4 separate regions of the Homo sapiens genome follow, and regions 1, 2 and 3 are each linked to region 4. The links are contacts of gene promoters, found by promoter capture Hi-C in blood cells and fetal thymus (Javierre and others, 2016). All regions are on one chromosome and are shown on one strand. Each heading gives the region's core, a stretch centred on a gene start or on the middle of the fragment in contact. The rest is flanking DNA. Distances are from core to core; before and after follow the strand shown.

The links. Contacts are between HindIII fragments. The CHiCAGO score rates a contact against its expected background, and 5 or more counts as called.
Region 1: a fragment that was not itself captured here is called in contact with the fragment with the promoter of ITIH5 in region 4 in 1 of 17 cell types (endothelial precursors); the score reaches 7.5 in endothelial precursors.
Region 2: a fragment that was not itself captured here is called in contact with the fragment with the promoter of ITIH5 in region 4 in 9 of 17 cell types (M2 macrophages, erythroblasts, endothelial precursors and 6 more); the score reaches 11.2 in M2 macrophages.
Region 3: a contact is called between a fragment that was not itself captured here and the fragment with the promoter of ITIH5 in region 4, in 1 of 17 cell types (M2 macrophages). The highest score is 5.5, in M2 macrophages.

Annotation. Positions count from the first base shown.
Region 1 is chr10:9,287,462-9,290,161 of GRCh38, reverse strand. All of the region lies in intron 2 of LOC101928272 (a long non-coding RNA gene), which reads left to right. Among named protein-coding and RNA genes, the nearest start is that of LINC00709, 13 kb to the right of the region's middle. The HindIII fragment of the contact is 2,722 bases long and covers 1-2,646 here.
Region 2 is chr10:9,305,894-9,308,593 of GRCh38, reverse strand. No RefSeq gene overlaps it. Among named protein-coding and RNA genes, the nearest start is that of LINC00709, 32 kb to the right of the region's middle. The HindIII fragment of the contact is 7,013 bases long and covers 1-2,700 here.
Region 3 is chr10:9,325,969-9,328,821 of GRCh38, reverse strand. No RefSeq gene overlaps it. Among named protein-coding and RNA genes, the nearest start is that of LINC00709, 52 kb to the right of the region's middle. The HindIII fragment of the contact is 2,174 bases long and covers 164-2,337 here.
Region 4 is chr10:7,665,410-7,668,416 of GRCh38, reverse strand. ITIH5 (inter-alpha-trypsin inhibitor heavy chain 5) reads left to right here and starts at 1,451. Exons shown (of 14, transcript NM_030569.7): 1 at 1,451-1,614. The coding sequence starts at 1,525. The HindIII fragment of the contact is 13,140 bases long and covers 1-3,007 here.

The sequences.
Region 1 (2,700 bases), core at 36-2,535, 1.6 Mb before region 4:
AATCATTTAGTTGAGATTCCTTGAAGTACCCAATTCCATTTTCATCACCTCCCTCTGAAAAGGTATTTTTAAATGAGCTATATGCAATGAGTTAGTTATGTAAATAAATAGTGGTCTAGAAAATATTGCACCATTTCTAGTGGTCTAGAAAATATTGCGCCATTAAAGAATTACAAATACCAGAGGAACTTCCTGAATGTTTAGATCCTGAAAAACTGTTTTTTTTTTAATCAGACTTGTCATAGGAGAAGTATAGGATTCAAATCAAAAGAAAGAAAGAGAGACAGAGAGAGAGAGACTTAAGGGACCTCATATAATATCCTCAAGGTTTTACCCCAAGCACAGTATTATGAGCAGCGAGCACAATGATTTGCCCACAGTAAATTTTCAACCATTGAGCATGCATTCACTCATTCATTCATTCATTCAACAAAGATTTTTTTGAATGCATAATCCTGTTAGCAATGTTTAAGGCACTGAGACTATCATTGCTAACAAGACAGACAAGGTTTCTGCCCCTCAGCACTTAGACATTTATACATGGGTGTCTAATAAGTAATATGAATAAATGAATTAATAAATTGTGGGCCTCTTTAGAACAACTTCCTTTGGTTTTGGATTTAGACTAACCTAGATCCAAAGCCCCTCTCACAAGCTATTTGGAAAATCAACATGCATATGATTTACTGACACACATTTGTCACTCATTAAGTGTGAATTCCCCTCTCATTCTAAGAGGGCAAGAAATGCTCTCTTAGCTCTTCTGGACGTATAAAATGTAACAATTTGATTGTTAGCTTTGTAAACTAAAAAGATAAGTGTAGTTAGAATACTAATTTCTATAAACAAGATGATGGGAACTTTACTGAATCAATGAAAAAGAAATTAGGTTTTAAATTTTTTCGTGTAACTTTCTAAATATGTTGTTTCCACATTTGTAATTTTTAATTATTAATAATTTAGGCTAATCATACTTAAAATTAAGTTGCATAATTTATTAACTTGATGATTGATCTCTTGACAATACAAATATATCTGAGGTATGTAATGCTTAAATATATAGCATATAATTAACTATTGAAATATTTTGATGAGGCCAATGTGCTACTCTTCCATAATTTTGCCTCTGTAATACTTACAAAATATTGATGGATAATGCCTTCAGTTACATTCTAATATTGGCAAAGGAATGTACTTGATTTTTTTTCTCACAAACACCTCTGCCTTGGTTGAAAGAAGCAGTAACACTTTGAAGAAGAGACCTTCCCTTCAGTGATTTGGTTGTATGGTCAAAGTAAGAGAAACTCTCAATTGTCCATCAAAATACACTCTCCTTTCTTTGGGGATATATGCTTTTTGCATTTTCTTTCTTTTTTTTTAAAGTTGGGGAGGTTGTTGCTTTTGAGGGGAGCTACACTTTTTTTTTTTTTTTTTCCTTTGTGTGGAGAATAGGGTCATGCTATATTGCCCAGGCAAGTCTCAAACTCCTGGACTCAAGCTATTCTCCCGCCTCTGCCTCCCTAAGAGCTGGGATTACAGACGTGAGCCACCACACCTGGTGGTTTTTGCATTTTCTATCCTCACTTGCAGTTAAGTGTGGTTATGTGATTCAGTTCTTGACAATAAAATTTGAAGGCAAAGGACTTGTACCATTTCCAGCCCAGGGCTTTAGGAAAAGCTATACCTTCCACTAGCTGGAATCTATATGCTACAGCAAGTCAGACTGACCTGGCGGACAACAGCAATGAACCACTGAATTATGGAGCAAAACATGTCAGGTCCCCTAGGTTCAATTCGATAATTTTTTATAGTAGCTACTGTAAGTCAGGGACTGTCTAGAAGCTCAGAATACATCAACACACAAAACAGATGCAGATCCTTCCCTTACTTTTATTCCAATGGGAAAATACAGAGAGTAAATAGGATAATCAATGAGTAAATTACAACATCTGTTATAAAAATAAAAGTGCTATGAGAAGAATTAAGTAAGTGTTTTGGGAAGGAGAAGCATTAGTGGGACTGGGGTGCCTCCATAGGGAAGACGCCATTTCAGCAAAGTCTTTTTGAACCAATCAGAATAGACACCAGACACTAAACAACAAATGTGCGCTCCTGGCTGGAGATCAGCCCTACACGTTTTGTGAACTCCCCGTGCTTTTTCTTGCCAATGTCCATGCCTTTCTCTTTGTCTAGGATTACATCCTTCTGACTCTACATATCTAAACCCGACAGGTGATTTCTTCCTTGACTTTCTTTTTTTTTGTATGTGACCAAACCCAACACTCTCTTTGCAAAACCAAAAATATATTTCTACTTGAAACTGGGCATTAATTTGGCTTTTCTTTCCTCAATGAAAGAAGAGGACAGGCAGCATTAGTATCTAGGTGTGGTCTATTTTTTTCCCATTTGTTACATCGAAATGTTTTATGGCACCTTAGCTTAAATGCAAGTTCTTTGGAGAATCGGCCTGCGCACCTTAGCTTAAATGCAAGTAGTTCCTTGGAGAATTGGCCTATGGCTTCATAGCACTGCCTCCCAAACCAGGTTGAGTTTCCTTCTACATACAGTTGTGGCTGCCTAAATTTCTGCTTTGTAATACTTAGAATTACTAGCTCAATGTCATTCTTTTCTGATAGACTGTAAGCTTCTTGAAGGCAGGTGCTATTTCTTCCTTGTTCACTGGTTGTCTGTTTTATCTCT
Region 2 (2,700 bases), core at 101-2,600, 1.6 Mb before region 4:
GATGCTGGCCCAAATCCTTCCTGATAAACATCAAATGGAGACAACCAGCTACAAGCAATTCCTCCAACAACAGAATAAATATTGGCACACCAAGAAATAATCTACTGATGGGAATAGAGGCCCTGAAAATCATCCCACAGTGAGTCAATCCCAAGTTCAGCAGCAAATCCTCATTTTGACAGAATCAGGAAGATGTTGAAGTGAGTATATTTCTGGTCAATACAAGAACATTTTTTCTTGGTTTTAACCTCCTCCTGGCAGTTCTGTGCCTTCTCATTTACCCCACCAGAGTTGTTCTTGCTAGACTTTTACTCTGGTATCAGAGTCTATTTAGCCAAGAGACTCACTGGGTATTAGCTAATTGGCCCATGGAGGAGCTTCCATAGTTTCCCTGTCCCCACTCAACATCAACTGCAGAAATTGATTCATAGGGGCCGTGGTCCCCTATTTGTTAGCAATACATGGATGTTTATCTGTTGAAGAAGACATTGTGGTACATTGGAAAGGGATTGGAATAGGAGCAAATAAGCCCCAGCTCCAGTCAGCAGTTTTACTGTGCTATGTGGATAATCATTTTGCTTTGCCAAACTCACAGACATGTTATGTGACTAGAATATGATATCTTGTGTAAGAGTACTTTCAAAATTATACTTACGTGGAAATGAGAACTGATATTAATACGTAATATATCTGTGAAACATTTTATGAGATTTTTCATGTCATTTCTCTTTGAAACAGATGAGTATCATTAGAATTTTTTTGCAATTTCTGAAAGGCAGACCTCTCAAAAAAGTTACACTGATATTTATTCTCGAGTATCGTAGCTTTTTATCCATTTATCCTTTTCTTTTTGTAAGTGTCCCATGATTTGGGGAACTTATTGTAGCAGTCAATGTAATTTACAAATTTAAATTACACTATAGGAGTAACTTAACTTCTTGCCTTGGGCAGCAGTGAAAGATAACTACTTTGTTTCTATTTGCAATAATAACTATTGATTAGATAAATAAATACTTTAATATCTCGGCCAAATCACCAGTGACATTTATGCCAATCCCTCTAATACTAAATCCATAAAATTTGAAAATAGTCTGTTTAATATTAATTTTATAGCCATGAATAAAGTACTCCTTCAATTTCTATGCTTCATGTAGCTTGTGTCTTTAACATCCATGTTTCTTACTCTACAGAGGAGGATACTAAAATTCAGTAATTAAGCCATGCAGCAAGTAAGACGTGGAGCTAGGATAGATACCCAAGCCCATAATTTTTCCAATATCTTATGTTGCCACTTGATTAACAATGCTTCTTAGAAGCATACTAATGGCAATGTCTATGATGGCAGTGACTGTACCTAAAAAATAAGTGTTTTTCCTATCACACGTCATTATGATCAGGTCACATTATATAATAAACATCAGTCATGTAAGGTGATGGAGTTTCTACTCAGAATGTTATTTTGCCACTAGTTAGCGTGTGTCACTAGTTAGATAATGACAAAATAGGGTTCAAAATTTTAAGTAATTTATATGCAGATAGACCAAGGAGAAAAATGTATTAGCAGTAGATTAAGGTTCAGAAACCAATGTTTTCTAATCCCAGATACCCATATGTATGCCTTTGAAAAAGTTATCAGGCAGAATTGAGGTATGGAAAGTAGAAGGCAGTCTGGGACTGCTCAAGGCTCAGTACGGAGCAGTACATGGAGTATCACATCATAGAGATCATTGACCATATAAAACACATATTCTTTCCTCAAAAATTTTAAAAGACACACTCACCAACTTTCTTTTTTTTAAACTTGTATTTTAAGTTCAGGGGTACATGTGCAGATTTGTTACACAGGTAAACTTGTGTCATGGGGGTTTGCTGTACAGATTATTTCATCACCCAGGTATTAAGCCTAGAACCCATTCGTTATTTTTCCTGATCCTCTCCCTCCCTCCTCCCACCTCCACCCTCTGAGAGGCCCCAGTGTGTGACATTCCCCTCTGTGTGTCCATACGTTCTTATCATTTAGCTCCCAGGTATACATGAAAACATGTGGTATTTGGTTTTCTCTTCCTGTGTGAGTTGCTAAGGATGAAGGCCTCAGCTGCATCCATGTCTCTTCAAAGGACATGATCTCATTCTTTTTTATGGCTGCATAGTATCCCATAGTGTATATATACCACATTTTCTTTATCCAGTCTATCATTGATGGACATTTATGTTGATTCTGTGTTGTGAATAGTGCTGCAATTAATATATGTGTATGTGTGTCCTAATAATAGGACGATTTGTATTCCTTTGGGTGTATACCCAATAATGGGATTGCTGGGTCAAATGATATTTATTTCTTTAGGTCTTTGAGGAATCGCCACAATGTTTTCCAAAATGGTTAAACTCATTTTTACTCTCACCAACGGTGTATAAACATTCCTTTTTCTTCACAACCCCACCAGAATCTGTATTTTTTTGACTTGTTAATAGTAGCCATTATGACTGGTGTGAGATGGTATCTCCTTGTGGTTTTGATTTGCATTTCTCTAATGGTCAGTGATGTTGAGCTTTTTTCATATGATCCTTGGCCGCATGCATGTCTTCTTTTGAAACATACTAACCAACTTCCAACTCACTATATGAACCTTGAAATATTTTGCTCAACATGTTTGAGGTTCTCTGTTCTCCTTATAGTTTTTGAAGCACTTCTTTCCTTGT
Region 3 (2,853 bases), core at 1-2,500, 1.7 Mb before region 4:
CAATGGGATCTATTTCAATGACATATTCTATTATCATTAAATCTGTAAGCAGAAATAAACATAGGTAGTTTAGTAATCCACTCAAGGTTATGGAGTCCCTTTGACTATTGTAACTTGTGCTTTGCTGAGAAAGAAATAAGCCTTACTGAGGTTGCATTAAGCTTTTGGTAATTTTAAAAAATCTGTCTACGAGTAGCTTTAAAAAATAGGGTCCTCTCTTAAAAAGAAAAAAACCTCTGGATAAAGTATTGTTCGTATTGATTCCACTCTTCACCAACACCATCAGAGGCTGAGAGCATTTCTCTATTTATACTCCACCATCCTTAGAACATTGGTTTAGGTCCTGTGCTGGCTCTCTGAAGGTTACCAGATAAAAAGAGAAAGGAAAAATGCAAAGGTGGAAGGGGGAATGAAAAAGACAAAAGGCTTTCTTTTCTTTATTTATTTATTTTTTTTTTTGAGACGGAGTCTTGCTCAGTCACCAGGCTGGGGTGCAGTAGCGCGATCTTGGCTCACTGCAACCTCCACCTCCTGGGTTCAAGCTATTCTCCTGCTCCAGCCTCCCCAGTTGCTGGGACTTCAAGTGTGTGCCACCCACACCCAGCTAATGTTTGTATTTTTAGTTGAGATGGGGTTTCACCATGTTGGCCATGATGGTCTCAATTTCTTGACCTTGTGATCCTCCTGCCTCAGCCCCACAAAGTGCTGGGATTACAGGCATGAGCCACCGCGCCCGGCCAAGTCTTTCCTTCTTAATTGATGAACGAAAACCCTCCTGTGAGATTTCTGCTTATATGTCCTTGTCCAGAACTGAGTCATATAGCCACTTCTAACTGCAACGGAGTTTAAAGTTGTAGTTTTTTAGACTTTAGAACTTCAATAGTAGAAAGAGATGGGGAATGAGGTTGTAACTGAAGTTGATTCAGCCAATCCAGAAGGCTTGCTAACCTCGGTCTTCAATGCAGGAGACTGAGTGTCACTGTTTACCTCCCCTTCAAAGATTTTGGTGAAAAAAAAAAAACGTAAAACAGAAAATGTACAAGAAAACATGTAAATCAATAACAGATCTGTAAGAAGAAGAGGGAAAGTTTATTAACATATTTGAAAGAATTGATGGATGACAGGGAGCAGATGAGATTGGCTAAGGCAGAAGTGAGTTGTGAAAACAATAGGCCAACACCAACAAAGAAAAGAACCATTGCAGGGATAGGAGCTGTTCTTCATGAAGCACTCAACAAGCCTTGGAGGAACTCTGAGGAATGGTTAAAAGTGCAAGGAAGGCATGTTGATCAGAGGGTAGCTACAAGGATGATCATGTAAAGGACTATTGGCCATGCAGCTGGGTCAGCCATGCTCCTCCTTACTGTTCATACAGAATGGTGAGATGTAGAGTTTGTCCTCAGACTAAGGCACAGAAAATATCTCTTTAAGCAAAAGAAAATGCCTGTGGGAGAAGGAGGCATTCTGAAAGTGGGGTCTGGGAGTGGGCGATTAAGAAGGACAAAAGAGAAGTACATTCTAAAATTCTGAAATAGTATGAAGTGGGGGAAAAGGAAGACAACCCTGGTTATCAATGAAACACAACGAAATTCTCCATGACGAATGTAAAGGTCTCTTCTAATGAAAGTTATGCACTTCTCCACCTTCCTTTCCCTCTCCTCACCCAAACACCATCAGGGGAAACCTCCCTGTTGAGCCACTCAGACAATGAGCTGCAGTCAGCAGCCAGCTCTCTGTCAAAGGGCATGACTGAAGACAGAATTAGCATTGTGCAAGAAAGAGTCAAAGAAATCTCCCAGAATATAGAAAAATGGGGACCCAAGAAGTGAGATAAAAGTGAGAAGCTGTGGAGAACACATTGAGCAGATCCAGTAACCATTAGCAAAAGTCTTAGTAAAAACAAGGAAAAAAATTGTATATATGTATATATAATATTTTATATATATATATAATGAGGTTATTGAATTGTGGGATGAGAAGTGATAATTGTGACTGAATTAATAATTTGTTGAAGAATTTCTATGAACTGAGTAATAGAACAAATCTTGAGACTAAAGTGGCCCTTTGAGCAACAACAAAAAAAGTAGACACTTACTTAAATGTTTCTTAAGTTTCTGAACTCAAAGGATGTACAAAAAAATCAGAAGTGTTAGCCTCAAATTTGTCCGTTGAAAATATAGATGCTAACAAAAGATATTGACTTCTTTTCTAATTCTGTGGAAAAAAAATATTAGGAGCGAGACATTTGTCCACAAAAATTATCATTTAAGTTGAGGGCAAAGGTATCATTTATCATAAAGCATGAAAGGACTCAAAATTGTTGTCACCAACAAAGCTTTGTTATCAAAAATGCACTGGAGATAAATGAAACAAAAATATACAAGAGAAGAAGAAATGGAATTTAAGAGACATGAGAGACAATAAATAGTCAAATCAATGATTAAATCTTAAAAAGAGTATTTACAATGTAGGTGTGAAGATTACTGAAATTATTCAAATAGGATTGCTTTCTGATGCAAAATATGAATTATCTGTAGCCAGAAACTCATACGTTTAACCAAAACATGATTAATAAAAGTTGCAGTGGAATGATACTCAAATATTGCCTTGTTCAACATAGAGAGTTACATATACTCATTATTTTATTAAGATCTTGAAAAATCTCAAAGTATGTTTGGTTAAGTTCTGTCAGCATTCTAACAATGAAAACAAGATTTAGTTCCTCCAACCACTAGAATAAAATAAAGGAAAAAAAACTCCCTTATTTTTTTTTACCTGACAATTATATGTTTTTATCATATTCCAACTTCTACTCATTTAGTAAAATATTTACTATTAGTATACCATTCCCTA
Region 4 (3,007 bases), core at 202-2,701:
AAATAAACAAGTAGCCCCAACTGCAATGTGTATCACCAGATAAAAAAGACGCACTCAGCCTGTAGAAGGCCAGGTGTGGACGGCTGGTGGGTAAGAATTCTTCCAATGGCAGGATGGAAGTATCACCAATAGTTTGTAACTAAGATACATACTGGCACTCACTTACATGATTAATAACCAGAAACTCAGAAATACTACACGCTACCAAGATACTTCCCTCGTCTCCTCTGTTTCCTTAGAACATAAAGGCTGGCAGCCTTGCTAGTCCCTCCTGCGCTAGACTGCAGGTAGTATCCTTTGTCCTGCCTATTAAGCGTCCCTGGCCAATGCAGAGGGGACGATCTGCCGGCTTCAGGCTGGCAGGTGCGGGGTGGGCTGTGTGCTGAGGACCAGGCTGGCCTTCTCGCGTCCTCTGGCGACAGAAATTAAGCAAGTCCGCAAAGAAGCATATTGCACCTTGAGGGAGAGGAAGAAAGAGTTGCGGGGGCGCGTGGGGTAGGGCCCGGGAGGCAGTGGGTGTTGGCAAGAAACGGAGTAGGAGGCTCTACAGAGGAGACTGGTCCTTGGTTAAGTGTCACAGCCGCAGGATGGGAGGGTGTGGGAGGGGTCCGTGGGGCCAACACAGGTGGCCCCTGCTGTGCGCGGCGAGGCAGGCTTGGAATGCCTTCTCCCCGAACAGAGCTAGCCCAGCACTGGGGGCTGGAGGCGCGGCTCTGGTGGGACTGAGGCCGGGAAGCGGCGCCGGGCGGGGTGGGGACTGGGGAGGAGGCGGGGCTGGTGTGGGGGCCACAGGGAGGCGGGCCGGGTTTAAGGGGGTGGCTGTAGGTGGGGTCTGGGAAGTTGGCCTCGGTGGGGACAGGGACAGGAGAGGTGGGGCCGGGACTGGGGAGGTGGGGGGAAATGGGGGCGTGGAGAAACGGAGCTTGGGGTTGGGGACCTGGGGAAGCTGGGTCCTGACTGGGGACAGGGAGGCGAGGCCGGGCTTGGGGGGTGTCCAGGGAGGCAGGGTGTGGGAAGGTCTGGGGCGGGGAAGTGGGGTCTGGGCTGGGGTGGGAGAGTTGGAGTCCAGAAGGGGACCGCGGGGTGGAAGGGGTCCGGGCTGGGACCGGGGTAGGCGGAGTCCAGGAGGGGACGCAGGGTGGGCGGGGTCCGGGCTGGGTCCGTGGGGTGGGCGGGGTCCGGGCTGGGACGCGGGGTGGGCGGGGTCCGGGCTGGGTCCGTGGGGTGGGCGGGGTCCGGGCTGGGTCCGTGGGGTGGGCGGAGTCCAGGAGGGGACCGCAGGGTGGGCGGGGTCCGGGCTGGGTCCGTGGGGTGGGCGGGGTCCGGGCTGGGTCCGTGGGGTGGGCGGGGTCCGGGCTGGGACCGCGGGGTGGGCGGGGTCCGGGCTGGGTCCGTGGGGTGGGCGGGGTCCGGGCTGGGACCGCGGGGTGGGCGGCCCCGAGAGCGTCCCGCAGTGGCTGGAGCCCTGGGCGCTGCAAAGCGTGTCCCGCCGGGTCCCCGAGCGTCCCGCGCCCTCGCCCCGCCATGCTCCTGCTGCTGGGGCTGTGCCTGGGGCTGTCCCTGTGTGTGGGGTCGCAGGAAGAGGCGCAGAGCTGGGGCCACTCTTCGGAGCAGGTAAGTGGAGCCGAGGGGAGCCGGGTCCCGGGCGCGGCCGCCCCCTTCCCTCCGCCGGCCCGGCCGCGGAGCTTCTGCCCGGGCCCCCTTCGACCGTCTCCCAGGCCCCCACCAGAGGCCCAGGGGTCCCTCTCTGTGGGTCACTCGTGCGTCACCTCTGTGTGAGCCGCGGTGCCTGATCTGGCCTGAGGCTTCCTGCAGAACTGTGCCCGGGACTTGTCCTGCGGAGCCGAGTTTTTCTTCTTGGCTCCTGTTGATTGCGCAGATTTCTGTTCGTCGTTGTTAATTTCTGAGGTAGCTCCAAAAGTTATTATAATTACAAGGTTTTTTCCTTATCACGCGTGGGGGGCAGTCTGCTGTTATCATCATTCCCAGTTGATCCAGGGAGAAAGGCAATATGAGAGGAGTTCTAGACTCCTGGGAGCCTCAGCTTTTCCCACCTGAAAACCGGGAGAACACGACTTTCCCATTTAGCGACTACCTACCGGTGGTTTAGCATTTAAAGGTGGCACCGAGAGCCAAAGCGTCTGAGTTCCTCGAGTTGCTGGTCTGTGCGTTTGTCAGGATTTGTGTTTCAAATGTCTTAACCTCGCAGGCGAATAAAACCTGCAAATATGAAATGTCAATAAAATGATGAATAGAGCATTTTTGTCTTTAAAAAGTATGAAGCGGGTTCACACAAATAGCATTGAGAGCTAATGTGCAACATGGCCCTGTCACAAAGTAGAAGTGCTTTCACACACATGCCATTTAAATATTTAAGCCGTTTAGCTTCCAGCGTGTTTGTGCACGGTGGGAGGAAGATACAAGTAGGCGGACCTTTTCTCCCTTTTCCAGCCCCTGTTTTGAAGAGCAGTTTTGAAGCCCAACTGCCTAAATATGAAGACAGTTATCTTCATGTTCTCTGTCCTGTGAATGTGCTTAACAGTAAAGTGGTAGTAATGATACTTCCTTCTAGGGGGGGAGTAGCTAATAAAATCCCAGGAGGCATCGTAGTGATGTTGGAAAAGTGCAGGCTTTGGATGCAGAGACAGGCTGGGCTTTAGTTGTGTGTTCCGGGCAAGCCCTTTAATCTCTCAGAGCCTTCATGTCCTCGTTGGTCAGGGCAGGGAATGCGGCTCTTTTTGAGCAAACTTGCAAGGACTCAGCTAATTTGTGTTAAGCACCTGGTATACAGTGGACGCTCAATAACTGGGAGATGTTTTAGTAGATGGCTGAAGGCATGGGCTTGGTACCAGGATGTCTGGGACCACTTGATTCTTGATTCTGTCACTTATCAGCTCTGGGACCCTGATCAAGTGCCTTTCGGCCTTATATTCCTCTTCTGTGAAATGTGGAGAAATGATAGGGTTGTGAGGACTGAATGCATTATGACACCCAAGTGCTTAAAACA